Linked DNA regions of Homo sapiens: region 1 is linked to region 2. The links are contacts of gene promoters, found by promoter capture Hi-C in human tissues and cell types (Jung and others, 2019). All regions are on one chromosome and are shown on one strand. Each heading gives the region's core, a stretch centred on a gene start or on the middle of the fragment in contact. The rest is flanking DNA. Distances are from core to core; before and after follow the strand shown.

Region 1 (4,944 bases), core at 1,455-3,954, 300 kb after region 2:
GAAATGACAAAATTGTAGAAATGGAGAACAGATCTGTGCTTGACAAAAATTAAGGAAAACGGAGACAGAAGGTTTGGCATTAGTGGTTCAGGAGGAAAGTAGAAGTGGCTCTAAAAGTGGCATCCTGATTACAATAGAAATGTCTGTCCTTTGGCTACATCAATATTAATATCCCAATGTAATACTGTATTATATTTCTGCAAGATGTTACCATTGTGTGAAGCTGAATAAATAGTATAATTGATCTCTGTATTATTTCTTACACTGCATGTGAATCTACAATTACCTAAAAATAAGACGTTCCTTAAATGTAAAACCAGTTATTCATATCCACATTAGCAAAAAGTAAGACATCTGTGAGCACCAATTAGAATTAAAGAACAATTGAGCAAGAGAGTTACTTTTCAGATCTGTACCTGTGGCCTCACAGTCCCATTCCTAGATATGCACACACAAAAAGAAACCACTCAAATACAAACATTATTTGTAACGGCCCCACACTAGAAAAATTCTATCAATGTGAGAACAGAAACAATTTGCAATGCATTTATTCACTGGACTGCTAAATAGTAATTAAAATATACCAAAGCTACAAATGTAAATCTCCAAGTGATGGACAACAAAAAAGCTGTAGAATTAAATAGAAATAGAAGATAAATGCCTGCGAAACATATTTACAGATCCACAAATTTGACGTAAAATTGTAAAACACACAGGAAAATGAATAATTACCAAACTCACATATGGGCAAAGAGGGAAGAGAATAGGATCAGGAATGACCACAGGGACTTCAACTCTACCTGAACTTTTACTTCTATTAGAAAATAAAATGTAAGCAAATGTAGCAAATTATGGATTTAATAAAGCTGAAGAGCAGGTCAGTGAATATTGATATTATTCCTTATAGTTACCTGCTTTTTTAAACTTAGTTATCCATTTTAAATAGTTCCTAATAAAAGAAAGCATAATGAATACACTAAGATTCTAACATGTACCCATGTCAGGTCTAGGTTGTCTTGTTGAACGGGTAGCTTGACAAGTATACACAACCTTTCACTGCAATTCCGAAATCTTAACCTTAGAAATTGACAGCCCAGGCAGGAAGCAGTGGCTCACGCCTTTAATCCTAAAGCTTTGGGAAGCCAAGGTGGGAGGATTCCTTGAGGTCAAGAGTTGGAGACTAGCCTGGGCAACATAGCAAGTCTCTACAAAAAATTTTTTTTTAATTAGCAGTTCACAGCTGCAGTGAGCTACGATGGCACCACTGCACTCCAGCCTGAGTGACAAAGAAAGAAAGAAAACAAAAGAAAGAGAAAGAAGAGAAAGAGAAGAGAAAGAGAAAAAGAAAAGAAAGAGAAAGATGAGAAAGAGAAGGGGAAAGAAGAGAAAAAGAAAAAAGAGAAAAAGAAGAGAAAGAGAAAGAGGAAGGGAAGAGCAAGGGACGAGGAAGAGGGAACAGGAAGAGAAGAGGAAGAGAAAGAAGAGGAAGAGAAAGGGAAGAGTAATAGAAAGGGAAGAGGAAGAGAAAGGGAAGAAAAAAAAGAAAAAGAGAGAAGGAGAGAAAGAAAAGAAAACAGAAAAAAGCATTCAGCACAGTGGCTCATACCTGTTATACCAGCACTTTGGGAGACCGAGGTGGGCAGATCACTTGAGGCCAGGAGTTTGAGACCAGCCTGGCCAATATGGTAAAACCCCGTCTCTACTAAAAATACAAAAATTAGCTGGATGTGGTGGTGCACATCTGCAGTGCCAGCTACTTGGGAGGCTGAGGCACAAGAATCACATGAACCCGGGAGGCAGAGGCTGTAGTGAGCCCAGATCATACCACTGCACTCCAGCCTCGGTGACAGCGAGACTCTTGTCCCAAAAAAAAAAGAAAGGAAGAAAAGAAGGAAAGGAGGAAGGAAGGGAAAGAAAAGAAAGAGGGAGGGAGGAGGGAACGAGGGAGAAAGAGAAAGAAAGGAAGAAAGAAGGGAGGAGAGAAAGAAAGGAAAAGAGAAAGAGAAGCAGAAATAGAGGAAGAGAAACTGACAGCCCAAGTTTATACTCAGGGCTACCAATCATTCTGGTTTGCTCCGAACAGGAGGTTTTTGGGGCCGACGCAGGAAAAGTACTGGGAAAACCTGGACCACTGCTCACCTCACTTAGGGGGCACTGACTGCTCCCTCTGAAATGAAAAGGATCTATGAAGTATAAGGTAAAGAAAGGCTAAGCCTTATAAGGCTTTCTTCCTGTATGTGACACACCACAGAGTCCCAAGTTCCTACCACCACCCACTCCTCTGTTTTCCAGGCCACTCCACACTCTTTATATTAAACCCACTTCAAGTACTTGATCCCCAAGAATTGATATGGTCAGAATAAGATCAAAAGGAAAGGGGAGTTGGAGAAAGACAGTCTCAGGTTAGGGCACATTCCCTAGTCTCAGTGCCGGTATGCAAGAGAAAAACATGGTATCTCAAGATTGCACATCGAAAAGAGGCACCACCCCTCCATGTGTCCTTGGCTATTATTAAGATTCAACCAGACCACAACTGTAAAGAATCCAAAGCCACATCTTTCAGCTCTCTTTAAGAAACTTCTATTCCCCAAGTGATAAGTTATACCTGACCAGTCCCCAGCGCAGGTCCATATCAAGGAATGCAGATAAAAGAGCCCTTTGAACCCCAGAATGGTCTTCATTTGCCCAGATTGAAAACCAAACCTCACTCAGGAAACAGGAAGTTGGGGAGAATAGCCTTATATGCCAAAATGCCTGAAGCCACACATAGGTGTGGGTAATTAATTACAACTTTGGACAGCACACACGTGCCATAAATATAATTTTGTTTCATTTTCTAAGATGTTACACTTTTTACTCAAATGTCAAAAAACAAGAGCAAAGATAAAGCAAAATGTGCAATAGAAGTACAACAGAAGGCTTCACTTGTTTTAGAGTCCAAAGCATCAGATATAGTTATTTTTATGCACTAAGGTTTACTTTATTAAAACTTCCTAATATCCTATAACATCTGTCTCCACATCTGAACACGAAAGAAATAACTGGATGATAATTTACTTGTTCTGTGCATCTCAGAAGGCCAAGCCCTGAGAACATGGGAATTGAAAGATTTCATCTACTTTCACCTGTTTTCACCAACTAAACAGTGGTACTCAAACTTAATAGATATCAGAATCACCGGGAGAGCTTATTGAAGCACAGCTGAGTGTCATTTAGTTTTCTGATTCACTAAGACTGGGCTGGGACCTGAGAATTGATGTTTCTCACAAGTTCCCAGGCGATGCTCATACTGACCACCCAGGGACCACACTTTGAGAATCCCTGGTCTACAGGGTTTTGCCTTCAGAGTGCATGCTGTGTTGATGCCCATTAGCAGCGATGTTTGCTTCTCAAACTTTAAGGAGCATATACATCACTTGAGGCTCTCTTTACAATGCAGATTCTAATTCGGAATGTCTGGGGTGAAGGCTAAGATTCTGCATTTTAAGATTGCAGGGATGTTGCTCTGGAGACTACGTTGTGAGTAGCAATGCCTGTAAATGGTTACTCACATTTAGATTCCTTTCTTCAAAACAGAAGATGCCAACTTAAAAATGAGAAATTCAAAATCTCATTACCAAAACAAGCCTAAATGAATGTTTGGTTCAAATATATTCTGATTTTTTTCGCTAATAACCAGTTATTAGAGTTTAGCAACTGTGTCCTACGTTAATAGAACGTGGAAAGTAGGAGCTTACCAAAAACAAATAGAAAAGACTATATAAATGCATTTAACTATCCTTGATATTATCTGAATTTTATCATTAAATTTAGTCTGTTCTAAAAGTTCTAAAATGCCATTAAATGATGAGCTCTTCAAAGGTTGAGATCATTCCTCTGTATTTTTGTGTGTCCTAACTTTCACAAAATGGGTGCCCAATAAAAGATGGCAGGAGAAAGAAAAAAAATAGAATTAGTTAGCATTTGTTCCTTTTAAAAATTTTTGTTTGTTTTTGTTTTGTTTTTGTTTTTTTGAGATGGAGTTTAGCTCTTGTCACCCAGGCTAGAATGCAATGGCACGATCTCCGCTCCCCGCACTCTCTGCCTCCTGGGTTCTAGCGATTCTCCTGCTTAGACTCCCAAGCAGCTAGGATTACAGGCGCCCGCCACTATGGCCAGCTAATTTCTGTGTTTTTAGTAGAGATGTGGTTTCGCCAAGTTGGCCAGGCTGGTCTCGAACTCCTGACCTCAAGTGGTCTGCCTGCCTCGCCCTCCCAAAATGCTGGGATTACTGGTGTGAGCCACTGAGCATGGCCTCTTTTTAAGTTTTTGAAATGTTTACATTTCACTTGTGTTAAAGACACAAATATATTTTAATTTTAATAATTATGCTTTTTTAATTTAATGTGTATTGAGATTAAAGGTATATTAAAACATTTCAGATACATTGCTATCTAGATGGACAGTGCTAAGGTTCAGTCCAAATGAATGTCAAAACCTTGTCCACAGGTACCTAAGGATGCACAAGGCAATGTCTCTGACTTTCAGCCACCCAGTCTTAGCCTCGTGTATCTGACAATCTGCGAAACTACTATTGTTATCAAATCGTCAATAAACTAGTAAAGAATAGGTGGCTTGAATCTTAAAAATTACCTGGTTAAATCACTGGAAGAGCAATACTTTCAAGGTGAGGATGGAAGCATTGAAGAGGTGACAGGGTCTCTTCATAGAGACAGGGTTTTGCCATGTTGGCCAGAATGGTCTCAAACTCCTGACCTCAGGTGATCTGCCTGCCTCAGCCTCCCAAAGTGCTAAGATTATAGGCTTGAGCCACCAAGCCCAGACTGCCATGTGTATATCCTTTTAAGGAAGTATCTATTCAAATATTTTATTCATTTTTATTGAGTTATTTCTCATCTTATTGAGTTGTACCTCATGACTTTTGTTTTGTATGGAAATGTCTTT
Region 2 (4,938 bases), core at 255-2,754:
CCAAGTCTTACTCTTTGTTCCTGCAGTTCTGTCTTGGTCCATGTCTATTGCCTTACTGAATGGCTCTATCATTCATTCAGTTTCCTAACCCAGAATCTGAGCGCCATCCTTTCCTGTTTTCTCTCCTGATTTACACATCCATTATATCAACAAGTACTGTCATTTCTCGTTCCTAAACATCTTTCAAATCCATTCATTCTCTCCAACTTCACTAGCATCATAGGTAGTTCAGTAACCATCATCCCTTCCCTAGAGAACTGCCTCTTTCTTAACCCTAACTCCCTGATTTCAGTATTATTTATTCCTATTGTTGCTTTACATGAAAACCAGGACAATATTTCTGAAATATAACCCATTTAATTCTGAGAATTAAAATAATTTCAGATTATAGACAACAAAGTTTTTGGGATTAGGCAAAACTGGATTTCAATCTCATCTATACCAGCTATATGAATATCTCTGAGTTTCAGTTCCATCTTCTGGAAAATGGGAATAATAATGTTACCTAGCTCCATCCTTCTTCCATTTGTGTGTCTTTTGCTTATTCATCAGGTCTCCAATTAGATGTCCCTTTATCTAGGAAGTCTCCTCTGCCTACCTACCCAACGTTGAGTTCTTTGATCCTCCTATGAGCTCTCTCAGGATATCCAATTTTACCTTGCAGATCACTGATTATAATGGGTTGTAATGATTTATTTATTCATCAGCATTGCCACTTTACCTTGCAGGTAACTGATTATAATGGGTGATTTATTTACTTGTCTATATTGTCAAGTAGCCTATAAAATCCTTGAGCGAAAATCATTTTTCACCATTTTATCTGAAGCACATGGCACACTGCTTGGCTTATAGTAGCTTTTCTCTAAGAAAATGCTGAGTGAATGAAAATTGCATGCCACTTTGCTTTCCTCCATGTAAAGAAGGCATTATTTTATTTTACCAATGAATCAGGTTCAGGGGATTAACAAGGTCATACAAGAAATGATTGCCATTGGGTTTGTCTTAGTCAAAGACCAGCTTGTTCTATGATACCAGCTGCTTCTTTGACTTAGAAAGGTGTTGTATTAATTATTGCTGTACAACCAACTTGTTCCCATTTTGTGGCTATTCATGTTGAACCTCCAAAGGTGAAATATCATGAAAATAAGATATTTAAGTTGTGTATATTAAGGCACAATTACTTTTTCACCAACCTAATACAATAGTAACAGTAGTTCTCTGGGAAGAAGAGTACTGTGGAAATGTGTGAAATTGTGAAAGGGGGCATTTATAAATTACCATTTACTTAGTTGTGTATATAACAATCTTTGAGCAGAGTCTGGCAAACAGAAAATCCTCCACCACTGATACCCACAGTAATTAGCACTATTATTTTCATAGGAAAGACTGTATCAGGCAGCCACTGCTTTTTCAGCAAATTTCAAAATAAACGTCCACACCCATATTGGGAACGCAAAATCAGTTAATGCTTCCGATAAAAAAGAGGAACTAGTTGTGTGTCTCAGAAGTTCTCAACACATCCTTTAAGGTTCCAAACATCTACTAGAAAAGGAGTGCAGATTTAAACTGAGTGAGGTGTGGAGTGGGGGAAGCTGACTGTGTCTGGAACAAAGAACTTTGAGGAACTTGCCCAGAGCCCTGCACTCATCAGACCTGCAGCAGACATTGCAGGCCTGAAGAAAGGTAGGTCCAGGGACTTGCCTTCCTAGGCTCTCGGACTGATAGTTTGTTTCATTTCCTGGGTTTAGGATTTCTGGGAGTGGAGTGAGAAAAAAAAATGAGGTCACTTCCCATGACCCAAGCTGGTAGTCAGGGTTGGGGTGGATTGAGTGCACATTTAAATATGCATTTGGTGAGGGTTGTGGGTGGTTGAGGAACAGTCTTCGCTACAGTTGATGGGAGTTAGAAAAGCCTCCTAAAGGCTGACACTGGAGGCTGGATGAAGTTGTTTTAGTTACTTTTGTTCCGTAAGTTCTCAGGATACCAAAACACTGTAAGCAACATTTTAAACTTTGATTAATTACCTCATCTACTGTTAATGCACTTCTTCCATGGTCTTTATTCTTTGTCTCTGACTGGTTATTTTTATAATTCAAGACTTAAGAAAAGATCTAGCACGTGCAGAATTTGGTGTACATGGAGTAGGGCACAGGCAGGGTCCCCAGCCTTGTACATTTAGATGGGCTGTGGCCTGACGTAGTTCTCCAGTGGTCTTTGGCACTATTCATGTGGCACCCAGGCAGTAAACTGAGGCTGCTCATGATAAAATCTGCAAATGAAAAACATCTTGTAGACTTTTAGCATTCTTAGGATAAGAAAGAAGCTTGTAAGTAGTCGTAGTCATTGTAATCTTTCCCCAGATGAAGTAAATGAAATCCAGAAAAGGGAAATAATGTACCTAGAATCACACAAGTTAACAAAAGGGCTAGGAGCAAAAAACCCAGAATTCTTGGTTCCTAGCCCAGGCCTTTCCCCCTTTTCCCTTCCCATGCCACCATTTCTGCATCCCCATCATCCTCCTAAAAACCATCCAGATTCAGGCCTCATTTTGGGTTTCTAGTCTATTTGATAACTCTGCCAAGAAAAAGGGGATGACCGTGTATACCACTCTCCTCATGCTCTCTTGTGTTGTGACCCATAAGGGGGATGGTGACATAAAAATGAGGAAACAAGAGACTGCTGGTGCTGCTGATCCACAAGGAGACTGGGGCCAATAGAAGAGGGAAGGGTGGTCTAGGTTACCCCACCTCTTTATCCGGGGTGGGGAGGAGGGGCGGGGAAGACATTGTAGTTGTCAAGAACCTGATGCATATAGGTGATGTGGCAAAACCAAGGTTTAGATTCTTCTCCAACCTGAAAGAAATGTCCCTCCCTCATATGTATCCAATATTCTCTGCAGTTAAAAAATATATATTTTGATTGTAGAGAAGTGGAGTCTTGTAAACACACGCTTTCTTTCCTTGGGGACCTTATCTACCCTAGATAATTAACACATGGATTTCTGTGGTGTAAAGATAGGAGGCAGTTATATAAATTTATGTCAAGAATGTCTTATAAAGACAGAGCACCAGCCTTGAATGACCAGAACCTGACCTATGTTACCAAAGAATTATGGAAAATCATAAGAGTCAATTATAAGCCTTAATTTGATATAATGGCTCGGCCCTCAGGAAGCTTACAGCCTTACCCGAGAGGCACTAAACACAGAGGGAGAACTACCAAGTGTGTTTGATAAGACAGACCCAACATGTCCTAAATTCTCAGTCTGAAGGTGTGCGTGAGAGATTGAGGCCGAGTTTCCCTTACATTAAAGAATAGGCCGGGTGCGGTGGCTCACGCCTGTAATTCCAGCACTTTGGGAGGCCCAGGTGGGTGGATCACGAGGTCAGAGGATCGAGACCATCCTGGCTAACACGGTGAAATCCCTTCTCTACTAAAAATACAAAAAAATTAGCCAGGCGTGGTGGCAGGCGCCGGTAGCCCCAGCTACTCTGGAGGCTGAGGCAGGAGAATGGCGTGAACCCGGGAGGCGGAGCTTGCAGTGAGCCGAGATTGCACCACTGCACGCCAGCCTGGGCAACAGAGCGAGACTCCGCCTCAAAATAAATAAATAAGTAAATAAATAAATAAATAAATAAATAAAAAGTACACATTTAGATGGACTAAGAAGAATTATCTTCAGTTTCTTTCAAAATAACTTTGGTTTCTGTGGTGTAAAAGGAAAATAACATAGATTTCTTAAATCCTTAGTTACCACTAGAGGTTGAGTAATCCACATGCGGGAAATGGGGGCTGTAGGAGAATGGTGTCTGAGAGAAGACAGAAACTATGCAAAACTGTTAGTGTGTGAGAAGATTAGATGCTGTGGTGGGTTTGTTGCTATTCTTGTAAGGTGGTCATGGCCGGGGGAGTGGAACATTCCTGCAAACGGGCTCAACATATGCAAATGTCTCAATATAGGAATGAAATTACTTTAGAACAACTTAAATAAGTCCAATATACTTGGGGCTTTAAAAAATAAAAAGGAGAAATTCAAGGTAAGGCTACGATAATAGATATGGGTTGAAGTAGCAGCAATATCAACAACATTAAATTTTTATCTTTATACTAAAGGTGGTGAAATGCAAAGAAAGGACTTTAAAGGGGAGGGTGACACAGTTGTCTTTGCATTTGATCATTTGGCTACAAAGTCAGGGGTGGGTTGAACATCCAAGGCTACAAATGGACACCGGGGAACATTCAGAGGCTGTAAGCAATACTCCTGATAAAAATAGGATGATGGCTTGGCACGAGGAGATGGGAGAAATACAGAGTTAAAAAATGGTTGCGTAGAATTAGAATATGATTGATGGAGCATAGAAGGTATGTAACGGAAGGTATCAATGACAAACTACCAGACATTTAACACAGACAACTGAGCTAATTGTTGGGCCTTCTACCAAGAAAGGACATTTGCAGTCGCATAGCCCTCTTAGCATTCCTGTTACCTTTAGCTCTTGCCTCTCTTGATTAGGGACTGCTTGTAGTGTTCTGAAGTAATCTCCACATAATATTCCTTGTGCCACCTTCCTTTATCTGAAAGATAAATTTTGAGGAAGACTGAATATCTTCTAATTTGGTCTTCTAATGTTTGAAATAAAAATTACCTCTTCTCTTTGCTGGAACAATTTGATAAATGATCAAATTATGGGCTTTATTATAGTGACTTCAAAATTAACCCCAGAGGGGGACAATTCTCTCAAGTTCAGCAAAATTTGAGGGTATGGATTCAGTTTAAGACCAAAAATAAGGCCTGCTATTTTATTTTATTCGTTTGCTCCAAATCTAAATTTTGTATTCTGTTCAGGGGATGCTGAAGTCTACTTATAGGTTTGATTATACCTACTCAATAAAATGTAAATGTAAGTCACCTCATAAACTCCATTATCATTAGAACAG

What was found. The method cuts DNA at HindIII sites, captures the fragments that hold promoters and counts their contacts. A contact is called where the count stands out against the background at its distance.
Region 1: a contact is called between the fragment with the promoter of OOSP1 here and the fragment with the promoter of MS4A4E in region 2, in 1 of the 25 tissues and cell types used here (adrenal gland).

The regions. Positions count from the first base shown.
Region 1 is chr11:59,936,192-59,941,135 of GRCh38, reverse strand. OOSP1 (oocyte secreted protein 1) reads right to left here and starts at 2,704. Exons shown (of 5, transcript NM_001395276.1): 1 at 2,606-2,704. The coding sequence starts at 2,681. The HindIII fragment of the contact is 12,909 bases long and covers 1-4,944 here.
Region 2 is chr11:60,239,703-60,244,640 of GRCh38, reverse strand. MS4A4E (membrane spanning 4-domains A4E) reads left to right here and starts at 1,504. Exons shown (of 9, transcript NM_001393391.1): 1 at 1,504-1,683. The HindIII fragment of the contact is 6,388 bases long and covers 1-2,749 here.